Linked DNA regions of Homo sapiens: region 1 is linked to region 2. Evidence: promoter capture Hi-C in 16 types of primary human blood cells and fetal thymus (Javierre and others, 2016). All regions are on one chromosome and are shown on one strand. Each heading gives the region's core, a stretch centred on a gene start or on the middle of the fragment in contact. The rest is flanking DNA. Distances are from core to core; before and after follow the strand shown. Region 1 has its middle 68 kb from the start of GPR6. Region 2 holds the start of ZBTB24 (zinc finger and BTB domain containing 24).

Region 1 (6,682 bases), core at 2,846-5,345, 560 kb after region 2:
AGACAGAGGTCTCCGCTTCAGCCTCTGATTGGTCTCAGGCCAATCCTTCATAGGGAATAACCAATTGGAGGCCTCCAAAGGGCACCTAGGGGTGTTACCAAATTCTTTTAGCCTAATAAAAACCCTAAATCAGGGGGCTCTTGAGCTGCTTGCTCGAGCCTGCTCCCACTCTGTGGAACGTACTTTCACTTCAATAAATCTGTGTTTTCGTTGCTTAGTTCTTTTGTTGCTTTGTCTTTTGTTGTTTCATTCTTTTGTTGCTTTGTTTGTGTGTTGGGTTCAACACACCAAGAACCTGCACAACTCACAGTCAAGACCTTCCATCTGGTAACAGCCTGTGCTTTAAGCCAAAGACAATAATTATAGAAAGTTATCCAGGAAGGGACTTTTACAGACCAACTGGCCTGAACCTGCACCTCCAATGGCAAATCTGTAGCCCCACAAAAAATGCAAAAATGAAAACTAAGCCCCCAAACAGAATGTCTCCTTTTCACCCCCTGACCCCTAGTTTCTCTATAAACCAGACTGTTCATGATGGCCTACATTTTTGGCTTGGCAGAGACAAGCAAAAAAAAAAAAAAAAAAAAAAAAACCACCTTCTGTCTCATTGCCTTCTCAGTGCCCTCAAACATTGCCAGGCATGTCCTATTATTACCTCTACATCTGATAACTAATTTCCTGACACGTGGAGCTCTCCCAAGAAGCCATTCCCACGACCAGAGGCTTCAAACCGGGCTGCTGTAACCCTAGTCCACACAGGACATTAGGCCAGCACCCCCGCCCCAGCTCCCCTTCTCCCCCACACACTTCCTTTGGGCCATAAGAGAAACCAAGTGTGCCTTGCTTCTCCCTGGGGCAGAAATCACCAGACTGAGGAAACAGCCACTTCCGTTTTTTTGTTGTTGTTTTTGTTTTGTTTTGTTGTTTTGAGACAGAGCCTGGCTCTGTCACCCAGGCTGGAGTGCAGTGGCACGATCTTAGCTCACTGCAACCTCCACCTCCCAGGTTCAAGTGATTCTCCTACCTCAGCCTCCCGAGTAGCTGGGATTACAGCTAATTTTTTTTTTTTTTTTTTTTCAGTAGAGACGGGGTTTCACCATGTTGGCCAGGATGGTCTCGATCTCCTGACCTCTTGATCCCCCCAACTCGGCCTCCCAAAGTGCTGGGATTACAGGTGCGAGCCACCATGCCTGAGCTGTTTTGATGCCAGGAAATCGAGGGCCTGAGTTTCCTGTATCTCAGCAAAGTAGGTGGGGATTGAAAGGCCTTCCCTGCCCTGCTGCCCAAGCTGAGCTGAGAGCTTTCCTGGTGCCCGGGCAGGGGCGGGGCAGGCATGCACAGGCCTGTCCATGCCCACATGTGTCTCCAGCACAGATGTTAACCACAGAGTATGACAGGAAGACCCCACTTCACTTCTGCAGACCCAGTAGCAAGCAGAGAAGGATTAACCCTGAAGCGAATGAAGCTTTAGTACCTCACTTCAAGGATCTGGGAAGGGCCCCAGCAATGTGTTCCTATGTCATGTGTCTTTGTAAACTGTATAGATTTAAGCTATCTTAACCTCAGCCAGTGAAGACTCTTTCCCTCCTGGTGTCCCCTCCATCACACAGCGCCTTTTGTAGAGTGACAGAGGATGTTCTGAGCATCTGGTTAAGGGGAATTAAATACAGGAAACATTTAATTGGGATTTCTTGGGATATTTTATATGGTCCACAGTTACTTCTATGTGTTAAGTAATTGCTAGCTGTTGTGAGGAATGGCTTCAGGAAGTCTCACCGCCTTCTTGCCCCAGAGGTGCAAGGCCAGGGGCTGTGCAGCAACAGTGAGGGAGAGGCAGAATTTGGAATGGATGGAGCCAGAAGCGAGTCTGTGGAATATTCATCCAGTTCTCACAGCTCACATGAGAAACCTGACACTAGGCTTCAAACATTTGACAACAAATCTGAAAATGTACATAACACTGCCAATAAACAGCAGGAAGAAACTTTGGTAAAATAGAATAAAGAAATGTTTTCCACCATGTTTGAGGAAAAGTGAATTATCTTTCTCTTCTCTCCGTAAAAAAAAAAAAGGAATCACAAAGTTGTCATGTGAAGAGGCGATTGAAGAGTATGGAAGAAAAAAAAAAGATGGGGAATGAATGAAGGGAATAAAGTGTTAATATAGTGTTATAAGGGTGTTTCAAAGAGTTAATTAATAAAAATAGTATGTTGTTTGAATTTGATATTTGTGGAATTTCTGATTCATTGTGACTTCTTTTCTCATTCTAAATAAATGCTTTTATACCTAGAATTTTAATGTGTATTTTTGTTTTAAGAAAGCCTCCAAAATTATATAAGCTTCAGGCCCCACAAAACTTGGATGCAGCATGGCAGGAAGTCACTAAGGTAACAATTTAGACCCATCAGAAAGAAGTCAACCATGTAACTAACAACAGCAATGGCATTCTGCCTTCTGCAATCCCAGAGAGCTTTTATATATAAGAAAGGCAATTTAGCACTGACAAGCGCTGGGTTCATAAGTAATAGAACCTTTCATTTCCTTTAACACGGTTAAAGGAAACATTCTCACTTGCAGATGAATAATGCACACTAATTTCTGCAATTTGGTAGTTCGGACCTCAAAAGGAAGGAGAGATCCAATGTCAAGCGAACTTTGTCATTGTTTCTGGTAAGGTGGGGCTGGGGGGTCTCTGGTGGTCATGGGGAATCCTGTCCCACTGCAGGGATATATGGGAGGACAGAAACTTCCCCTGACCTCAATTAGAGGAGGGGAAGACTCATATCTCCGGAACAAATCTCTCCACCGGCTCACCCAAGCCTCAGGAAAGGTATGAATGGTTTTAATTTTGAGTCTGCTTTGGCAGCCATTTTTCCTTGACTTTCATTTTCTTCCTTTCTTTTCAAATTATTTTATATTTGGGGAAATGAGGCATCAACCAAAAAAATCAAGTCAACAACATGCTTGTGTCTATTAGGAGGACAGCTGGGAGCATGCACTGGTGGTGGCTGAGGCTGGGATTTTGACAGGGTTCTCCCGGTTCCCATTGTGCCTCCTGAGCCACGACAAGGTCCCCAAGGAAGGCTGAACATGACAAATGTCTCACCCTGCCCTCTGTTTATTTCTTTAAATGTTCACTACATTATTTAGTAACTACTCTTAAAAATTATTGGAAGATTCAGACTTCAAACTATACTACAAGGCTACAGTAACCAAAACAGCATGGTACTGGTACCAAAATAGAGATATAGACCAATGGAACAGAATAGAGCCCTCAGAAATAATGCCGCATATCTACAACCATCTGATCTTCGACAAACCTGACAAAAACAAGAAATGGGGAAACGATTCCCTATTTAATAAATGGTGCTGGGAAAACTGGCTAGCCATATGTAGAAAGCTGAAACTGGATCCCTTCCTTACACCTTATACAAAAATTAATTCAAGATGGATTAAAGACTTAAAGGTTAGACCTAAAACCATAAAAACCCTAGAAGAAAACCTAGGCAATACCATTCAGGACATAGGCATGGGCAAGGACTTCATGTCTAAAACACCAAAAGCAATGGCAACAAAAGCCAAAATTGACAAATGGGATCTAATGAAACCAAAGAGCTTCTGCATAGCAAAAGAAACTACCATCAGAGCGAACAGGCAACCTACAGAGTGAGAGAAAATTTTTGCAATCTACTCATCTGACAAAGGGCTAATATCCAGAATCGACAATGAACTCAAACAAATTTACAAGATAAAAACAAATAACCCCATCACAAAGTGGACAAAGGATATGAACAGACACTTCTCAAAAGAAGACATTTATGCAGCCAAAAGACACATGAAAAAATGCTCATCATCACTGGCCATCAGAGAAATGCAAATCAAAACCACAGTGAGATACCATCTCACACCAGTTAGAATACTGATCATTAAAAAGTCAGGAAACAACAGGTGCTGGAGAGGATGTGGAGAAATAGGAACACTTTTACACTGTTGGTGGGAGTGTAAACTAGTCTAACCATTGTGGAAGTCGGTGTGGCAATTCCTCAGGGATCTTGAACTAGAAATACCATTTGACCCAGCAATCCCATTACTGGGCATATACCCAAAGGATTATAAATCATGCTGCTATAAAGACACATGTACACGTATGTTTATAGCGGCACTATTCACAATAGCAAAGACTTGGAACCAACCCAAATGTCCAACAATGATACACTGAATTAAGAAAATGTGGCACATATAGACCATGGAATACTATGCAGCCATAAAAAATGATGAGCTCATGTCCTTTGTAGGGACATGGATGAAGCTGGAAACCATCATTCTCAGCAAACTATTGCAAGGACAAAAAACCAAACACCACATGTTCTCACCCATAGGTGGGAATTGAACAATGAGAACACATGGACACAGGAAGGGGAGCATCACACACTGGGCCCTGTTGTGAGGTGGGGGGAGTGGGGAGGGATAGCATTAGGAGATATACCTAATGTTAAATGACAAGTTAATGGGTGCAGCACACCAACATGGCACATGTATACATATATAACTAACCTGCATGTTGTGCACATGTACCCTAAAACTTATAGTAAAAAAAAATATATTGGAAGAAAGAAATACATGTTTATGCCTTTAAAAATCCCCTGTCTCTTCTGGTAGCAAGGCCTTGGAGCCCAGGTCCAGATGATAGTGAAAGGTACAAGAGTAGCTGCAGCTGGTACACCCAGGATTCTCCACATGAGGCCACCAGGGCACCTTTTCCAAAATCACCTGGGGCTTTTTAAGATGCAGATTTCCAGGGTCTCCCCTCTGAATTTTACCAAAGTGCCCAGATGCCATCCTTACCCTGAAATTCTGAGGTCTAACCCTGTGCCCAGAGGAGCCAAGAGCAAGTCCCTTGGACTAGAAGTATCCTTTTGTGGAGTACAGGAATCCCAGGTCCCTCACTCTCTACCTCAGGAGGCTCTTCGGCTTCTGTAGAGCAGCTACTGGAGTGTGATGGTTAATATTTAGTGTCAACTTGATTGGATTAAAGGATGCAAATTATTGATCCTGGGTGTGTCTGTGAAGGTGTTGCCAAAGGAGATTAACATTTGAGTCAATGGGCTGGGACAGGCAGACCCACCCTTAATCTGGGTGGGCACCATCTAATCAGCAGCCAGTGCAGCCAAAATATAAAGCAAGCAGAAAAACGTGAAAAGCCTAGACGGTCCTAGCCTCCCAGACTACATCTTTCTCCCATGCTGGTTGCTTCCTGCCCTCAAACATGGGATTCCAAGTTCTTCAGCTTTGGGACTCAGACTGGCTTCTTTGATCCTCAGCTTGCAGACAGCCTACTGCGGGGCCTTGTGATCATGTGAGTTAATACTACTTAATACACTTAATACTCCATTATCCATGTAACTTCTGTAGCCCCTGCATCAACTGACTCTGCCGGATGATTCCACAGTAGGGCATGGAGTCATTGACCAGAAGCCAGAGCTGATGACTCCATGCACCCCTCTCAGACTTGGAAGAAGAGCCACACCACAATGCATGGGGGATGAATTCCTCAGCAGTTTCTAAAAGGGCCAGGTGATGGAACCCCAAAGTGTGGTATATGAAACTCCACAGGGGATGAACTCTGATCTGTTGAGGATAGGAGTCAGGAGGGATTCTGCAGATCAAGTCACCCTCTATTCCTTCCTCCAGGGGGCTTAGTGTCAGGCTCATGAAGTAGGAATGCGGGAATCCACCCCGTGGCTGCACTGGTGCCTGGATAGATAGTCATTAGTTGCTGTAGAGATCTAACAACACAACAGCAACTCAAGTATCTAAACCTTTCTGAATCTAGCTTGGATGACTCCCTACTCAAGCTTACTTTGGGCCAGAAGTCTTAGAACTTAAAGAATCTGGGGAATCTCATAGATGTATCTAATACATTATTATGTGTTAGAAAGAATTGCTGTCTGGGTTCTAGAGCTGTGACTGCCTGTCTGTTTGGTATTAACCCCACATCATAGGGCAAATCACTCAACTTCTCTATATGTAGCAGAGGGTTAATGGTTAAAGGAAATATTCTCACTTGGAGACGAATAATGCACATCACTGTAGGATGGGTCAGTTGGGATCTCAAAAGGAAGTTGAGTCGGGGTTAGACTTCAGAGCTTCTGGGTAAGAAGAGGCAGTTGGACACCTTGTTAAAAATGCAGCTTCTTGGCTCTACCCCAGAGGTCCTGTTTCAGATCTGGGGTAGACTCTGGAAATCTGCATTCTGAGAAGCCTTCAGGTGATTCTGGTGAAGATGGCCTGGTGACCTTGCTTGGAGCATAATGGCATTAACATTAATTCTTTTCTTGCCGGGTTGTTATAAGACTTAAAGTAGAGTCACAAACATGCTTAGAATGGTACTTAGCACATCATAAAATACTAAACAAATTTCACTCTTTTTATTGCTCTTGATTTTCTGGGCTAGGTTTTGAGGATATAGCAGTGAATCAGGTAAACGTGTTGCCTGCCCTCAAGTAGCTCCAGGGAGGCGCAGTGGGGGAGGGGTGGGTTGCCAAGATCTGCTTTGGAATTGGAGAAGCTCTCCTGAACAGCAGCCAGGAGCTTCCTACCTTTCCCAGGGTGATCATCTCGGTTCTAGAATTTGAACATAGAAATATTCTAGGAGTGGCTATCTTGTTGGAAAGGGATAGGA
Region 2 (6,059 bases), core at 3,285-5,784:
CCTAAGAAATAAATAAAATACAGGCTCTCTCCACACATGCAGCATTGCCAGTAGCTTTTAGCAACCCACCCTTACATATGATTTAAAAAAAAAACACCAGGCACTCAAGGAGAGCCTTTTGTAATAGTGACAGACAAACAAGCAAGAAGAAAAAAAAAAGCAACTTGCCTCCAGTGAGGAAAATGTTGTTATCATTAACATGCTCATAGAGGTAAGATAATACATTGTGAAATAAAAAGATCATTCAAATTAAAACATTTAGAAAAAAAAGAGCTCCTAAAGGGGGAAAAAAATAAGAGTTGAAACAGAAAACCTCAAAGGGCTGAAAAACAAAGTGGAAATCCCCCAGAGGGTGGGGCCAAAAATGATGGAAAATATAAGAGAAAATAAAGTTAGAGAGAACAGAGAAAACAGAGAGGAGAAATCATCTATGAAATAACTCAAGATTTTCCAGAACTGAAAGACAGTTTCCAAACCTTATGAATCTACCTGTTATCTACCCAGATGGAAGAAAACAGACCCATACTAAAGTGATGGGCTGCAAAATTCAGAATACAGATGCTTCCTGACTTATGATGGGACTACATCTAACAAACCCATCATACTGAAAATATCATAAGGAAAAATGCACTTATACAGAGTACTGTATGAATGCACCAAATGCAGAGTACTGGTCATTTACCCACGTGACTGTGTGGCCCGGCATGGCATGAGAGGATCATACTGAATATTACTAGACCGGGAAAAGATCAAAACTCAGAATTCAAAGTACAGTTTCTGTTGAACATGTACTGCTTTCACACTATTGTAAAGATGAATTGAACCATTGTGAGTCGGGGACTGTCTGTACTGAGGACATAAGGGAAGAACGATCCTACATGCTTTTTCTTAAGTCTTGTATAATGATTTAACTCTAAACTATGCACATAAAATTTTTGATAAAAATAGCCAGCTGGGCGCAGTGGCGCACGCCTGTAATCCCAGCACTTTGGGAGGCTGAGGCAGGCAGATCACGAGGTCAGGAGTTTGAGACCAGCCTGACCAACATGGTGAAACCCCGTCTCTACTAAAAATACAAAAAATTAGCTGGGCGTGGTGGCGTGTGCCTGTAATCCCAGCTACTCAGGAGGCTGAGGCAGGAGAATCACTTGAACTCGGGAGGCGGAGGTTGCGGTGAGCCGAGATCGCGCCACTGCACTCTAGCCTGGGTGACAGAGCGAGAATCCATCTCAAAAAAAAAAAAAAAAAAAAAAAAAAAGCTAAAATATAACCTATTACAGTTCAACAAATATTTCTCAAGTATCCACTTTGTTCGAAGTACCTGAATTCAAGCTCTTCAACCTATCTGTAGCTAAAGTCTTTAGGGAGCTTTTAAAAGCACCAAGGCTCCAGACAACTAAATCAGAAGCTCTGGGGTGGAGGTCTAGGCACTGGTAGTTTTAGAAGCTCCCTAAGTGATTCCAATTTGCAGGCTGAGAACCACAGCACCAGATACTGCTGGATCACAGGAGAAGACTTAAGCCCCAGTCCCTATACTTAAGATTACAATTAAGTTGAGGGATATACAAGTGGTAACAACAATCTGATCCAAAGCAGAGTGGGTTTTAAGCACCTGAAAGGGCTCAAAGGAGGAAGGGATTTCTCACTAGGACTGCAGTGTCCAATACGGTAGCCACTAGCCACATGTGGTTATTCAAATTTAAATGAATTAAAATAAAATTTAAAATTCAGTTTCTCAGTCACGCTAGCCACAGTTCAAGTGCTCAAAAACCACATGTGGTTACTGGCCACCATATTGGACATCAGAGATGTAGGAACATTTCCATCATCACAGAAGGGTCCCATTGGTCAGCGCTGGGCTAGAGGGACCAAAAATGAGAAGGTATTTAAAGCTAGATAGCTGAGTTACAAAGTGATCTACACAGACTTGGGCAAAAGCATGGTTATGGTCAAGATGAAGAATGTTCAAGAATCAGAAAGCAGGGTACATTGGGCTAGATCTTGATAAGTGGACATTAAAGGATTCATTCAACAACTACAAATGAGAGGGGTTCTTGAACCAGGCTACCTGGGTTCAATCCCAGCTCTGTCACTAACGGGTGACTCTGGCAAGTTATTTAAGCTCCCTAGAACTTGGTTGCTTCATCTGTAAACTATGCACTTTAGCAACCCTCTCTTACATATGAGTAAATATGATTTTAATCATACAATGTATAATGAGGATATTACCCACCTTGCAGGATTGTGGAGAAAATTAACTGCAATAACATGTATAAAGGCTTTATTACAATGCCCATCACACAGAAGTTGCACAGTAAATGGAAGCTATTATTATCATCACTACTCCCAATTCTGCAACACACTGCAATCAGCTTTGAAAACATCATTACCTGTGTGGCTCCTCTGGTGGATTGCTAAAAAGTGATTGTACTTAAAGACCTTGCCACAGTCTTTACAGCGGGCCTCAGGGCCTCCAGGGCGCTTTCTCCTTCCACAGATCCTCTTGGCTGAACCATGGTCCTCTTGATCCCCAACAAGTTTGTAATCTTTAAGTTTGACGGATCTCCAAATCCTCCGCTTGCTGTATCGACTCTGGCTTGCCTGGCCATCCTCGGTCTTGGGATCATAGTTCTCATCTTTTTCAACTGGCATTTCCTCCTCTCTACTTGGCTCACAAGTAGGCTCCGATTCTTCCTTTTCTTTTGCTGCAATTTGCTCATTCAGTACACCACTGTCTCCTTTAACCACAAAGTTTTGTCTATTCTGAACTGAATTGTTCACTCTTAACTGTATTTCTTCCTCTGCAGCCAGTTCTGATTTCTCCTCCTGCAATGTATTGACTTTTTTTGGTCTTCCCCGTTTCCGCTTTGGAGGATCGTTTTTCTTATTAGAGATAACAACCACTGGGGCACCAGCAGTGTTCAAAGTTGTTGGCTTTGGGGAGCTATGATTATTTTGGAAGTCTGTGTAAGCCTTTACCAGGTCATAGACTTTTAAGAACTGAGCAGTAGCCAGGATTTGTTCTGTACTTTTCTCACTGGCATGGAGATAACCTGTGTAGATAAATTCCAGCAGGATACCAAAGGTGTCTGCAACCATGCCTTCCAGCATATAAATGGATTGGCCGATTTCCCCCTCTTCTGCAAACATCATTGAGAAGTATTCACTACTGGCAGCAAGTAAGGCTTTGTGGGCCCGGAAATGTACATTCTCCACGATTAAAGTAATGTCACAGAGGAAGCCTTTCTTCCTCTGATCCTCAAAACTGGCCAGCACAGTGTCACTGTGAGCGTCTGAGTGTACAACAAGCTGCCCAGAAGGCTCTGGCGATGTTTCTGCCATTTTCTTCAGAAGCCACTAAGGGTTAAATCTGAAATAAGAAAACAAGGTTTAAAAAGGAGAAAGCACTGTCTAAAAGGTTAATGCCAGCCCACATGAACTTCCTATTCACTTCACATCATTAACTGAATTTTACCATTACCATTTTTGTCTGTCTACAAACTTAGCTCTGGGCCCGGGCGCAGTGGCCTCACGCCTGTAATCCCAGCACTTTGGGAGGCCGAGGCCGACGGATCACTTGAGACCAGCCTGGGCAACATGGAGAGAATTCATCTATACAAAAAATACAAAAATTAGCCTGGCGTGGTGGCGCCCGCCTGTGGTCCCAGCTACTCAGGAGGCTGCGGCAGGAGCATCACCTGAGCCTGGGAGTTCGAGGTTGCCGTGAGCCGTGATCGTGCCACTGCACTCCAGCCTGGGCGACAGAACGAGACCACCACCTCAAAAAACAAAAACAAAACAACTTAGCTCGCGGTTTTTTTTTTTTGAGACGGAGTCTCGCTCTATCGCCCAGGCTGGAGTGCAGTGGCGCAATCTCGGCTCACTGCAACCTCCGCCTCCCAGGTTCAAGCAATTCTCTCCCTCAGCCTCCTGCCGCACATTAACTAGCTGAGTGACTCTCCAGTATTCATGGAACGGTTCAGGGTCTACCTTCTATAAAATGAAGGAATGGGATTAACCATCTCCAAAATCCTCCGCAAGCACGAACTTTCTATGGTTGCACAACTATTTCAGGGAGAACGAAGCTGCCTCCATCTCCCAGATTATTAGCCATTTCGTATGTGGGAACCAATGTGAAGAGTGAAGAAATGTGCACGTGCAAAGTGAATGTGAGGTAGCTGCAATAAAATACTAATAACTTAAGCTGCGTGGGGCCGCCAGACACACTAGGGGCGGCGCGGAGCCCCCCGCAGCCCCGGGTGGTCCCAGCAGGGAGAGGTGGCGCGGAAAGACCCCCACCTCCCCGCCCAGGCCCCGCGGGCCCGACTGGGGAGCACACGGCGGGGGAGGGGTCGGCGCGGCAGACCTACCGCTCAGGGGCGCCCGGTGGGGTCCGGGTCGCTGCCAACTCACCCGGCGGCCTGGCGGGAGACCCACGCCGGGGCCCGCTGGCCCTCCGCTCCGCCCCGCCCGCCTCTGGGGCTTCTGCGCCGCACCGGTTTCTGCTCCTGCGCCGCCGCCGCAGCCACAGCCACAGCCAACCCGGAAGCGCGGCGCCAAGAGCCGCTTGCGCGCGGACGCCGAACCACGTGGCCCGCAGAGGCGCCCCTGGAGGTGGGGGCCACGAGAGCGGCGGGGAGGGGAAGGGAGGTGAGGGGCGGGGCGGGGCGAGATGGCGGGGCGGGGCGGGGCGGGGCAAGGCGGGGCAAGGCAGGGCAAGGCGGGGCGCGAAGGCAGTTCAAGGGTTGGGGCGTGGCAGGGGAGGGGAGGGGCAAGGCGGGGCGAGAATGCAGGCCTGGGGTCGGGGGAGCCGCGGCGGGGCGGGGCAGGGCGGGGCGAGATGGCAGGCCCGGGGCTTTGGGGCCGGGGCCGGGGCCGGGGCCGGGGCAGGGCGGGGAGGGGCGCGGCTTCGGAGGAGGGACAGTGGCCGGGGCGGGGCGCGGCCAGGGGCGGGGCGGTGTCGGCGCCCGAGGTCCTGCGTGTGGCACTGCCGGGGAGCCCAGGCAGGAGCGACTTTTGCGGTGAATTGGGGGCAATGGACAGGAGAGGCGTTGTGACCCCTCCCTTTGGGAAGTTTTATATCGTATTAAACTGTTAGCTCAACGCCAATACCTTAATTTTATCTCTTCTCCGACACCGAATCTGGTGTTGTTCTTGAATGTATAAAGGCATGAAATCCCCCTTACCGTCATCATCATTGTCATCATCATCACCATCGTCATTATCTAGTGCTAATATAATAACTATTACTTACCTCCTAAATGTTTTTCACATCTGCCTCCTTTTCCTCCCCACTCCTGATGCCTTAGTCTAAGGGAATGAAGAGAGCACTGCAGTCAGAGAAACCTGGGTTCTGAGAGATCTTGGGCAAATTACTTACCCTCACAACTTCTTTACCTTACCTGTAAAATGGAGATGTTAACACTAGTGCCACTTTGGTAGGGTTGCTATTGCATAAACAAAATTAAGTATGTAATGGGCTTAGGAAATGCCTGGTTTAATTCGTCTGCTGTGATTAAAATGATCATTATTATTCAAACTTTCATCATCTTTGTTCAATAGACTGTTTCTAACTGGTCTCAGCTGCAGCGTTGTTCTCTTTAATTCGCAGAAGTACAGAGGATTTCTCCAAGTACATATGAGATCCAGAGACTAGAGTCACTCCTTGGCTTAGAATCCATGTGGCTCCCACATGCCCTCTGGATAAAGTCCAGGCTTCTTAATGTGGTCTACAAGCCCCATCCAGATCTACTCCCCACCTGCTTCCATCCATTTATTTCAGCATTTTCTCTCTCTTAGCCAATACCTAATTACTTATTTTTCTGCCCATTTCCAGATTCCCAACATGCCATCTATAGCCTCCCTGATCTTGAACCGGAGGTGTAATTAGCAACCTGGCTCTTACATTTTTACTAGATTTTATTAAAACTAGCTCAAGCCACACATGCTCCTTCTCTGAGGTTTCCCTTTCATATTGAATTGTCTCTAAGTCCTCTGGATTTGTGGGGGTACAAGTGGGATGGGGAGCGCTCCCTGACTTCTGCATACCAGCAGGAAGT

Evidence for each region. The method cuts DNA at HindIII sites, captures the fragments that hold promoters and counts their contacts. A CHiCAGO score of 5 or more calls a contact.
Region 1: a fragment that was not itself captured here is called in contact with the fragment with the promoter of ZBTB24 in region 2 in 1 of 17 cell types (neutrophils); the score reaches 7.1 in neutrophils.

The regions. Positions count from the first base shown.
Region 1 is chr6:110,042,960-110,049,641 of GRCh38, forward strand. No RefSeq gene overlaps it. Among named protein-coding and RNA genes, the nearest start is that of GPR6, 68 kb to the left of the region's middle. RefSeq lists an enhancer at 747-846. The HindIII fragment of the contact is 3,516 bases long and covers 2,338-5,853 here.
Region 2 is chr6:109,478,685-109,484,743 of GRCh38, forward strand. ZBTB24 (zinc finger and BTB domain containing 24) reads right to left here and starts at 4,535. Exons shown (of 7, transcript NM_014797.3): 1 at 4,414-4,535; 2 at 2,391-3,370. The coding sequence starts at 3,342. ZBTB24-DT (ZBTB24 divergent transcript) reads left to right here and starts at 4,960. Exons shown (of 4, transcript NR_187591.1): 1 at 4,960-6,059. RefSeq lists an enhancer at 2,026-2,527 and silencers at 4,226-4,515, 4,596-5,035. The HindIII fragment of the contact is 11,956 bases long and covers 1-6,059 here.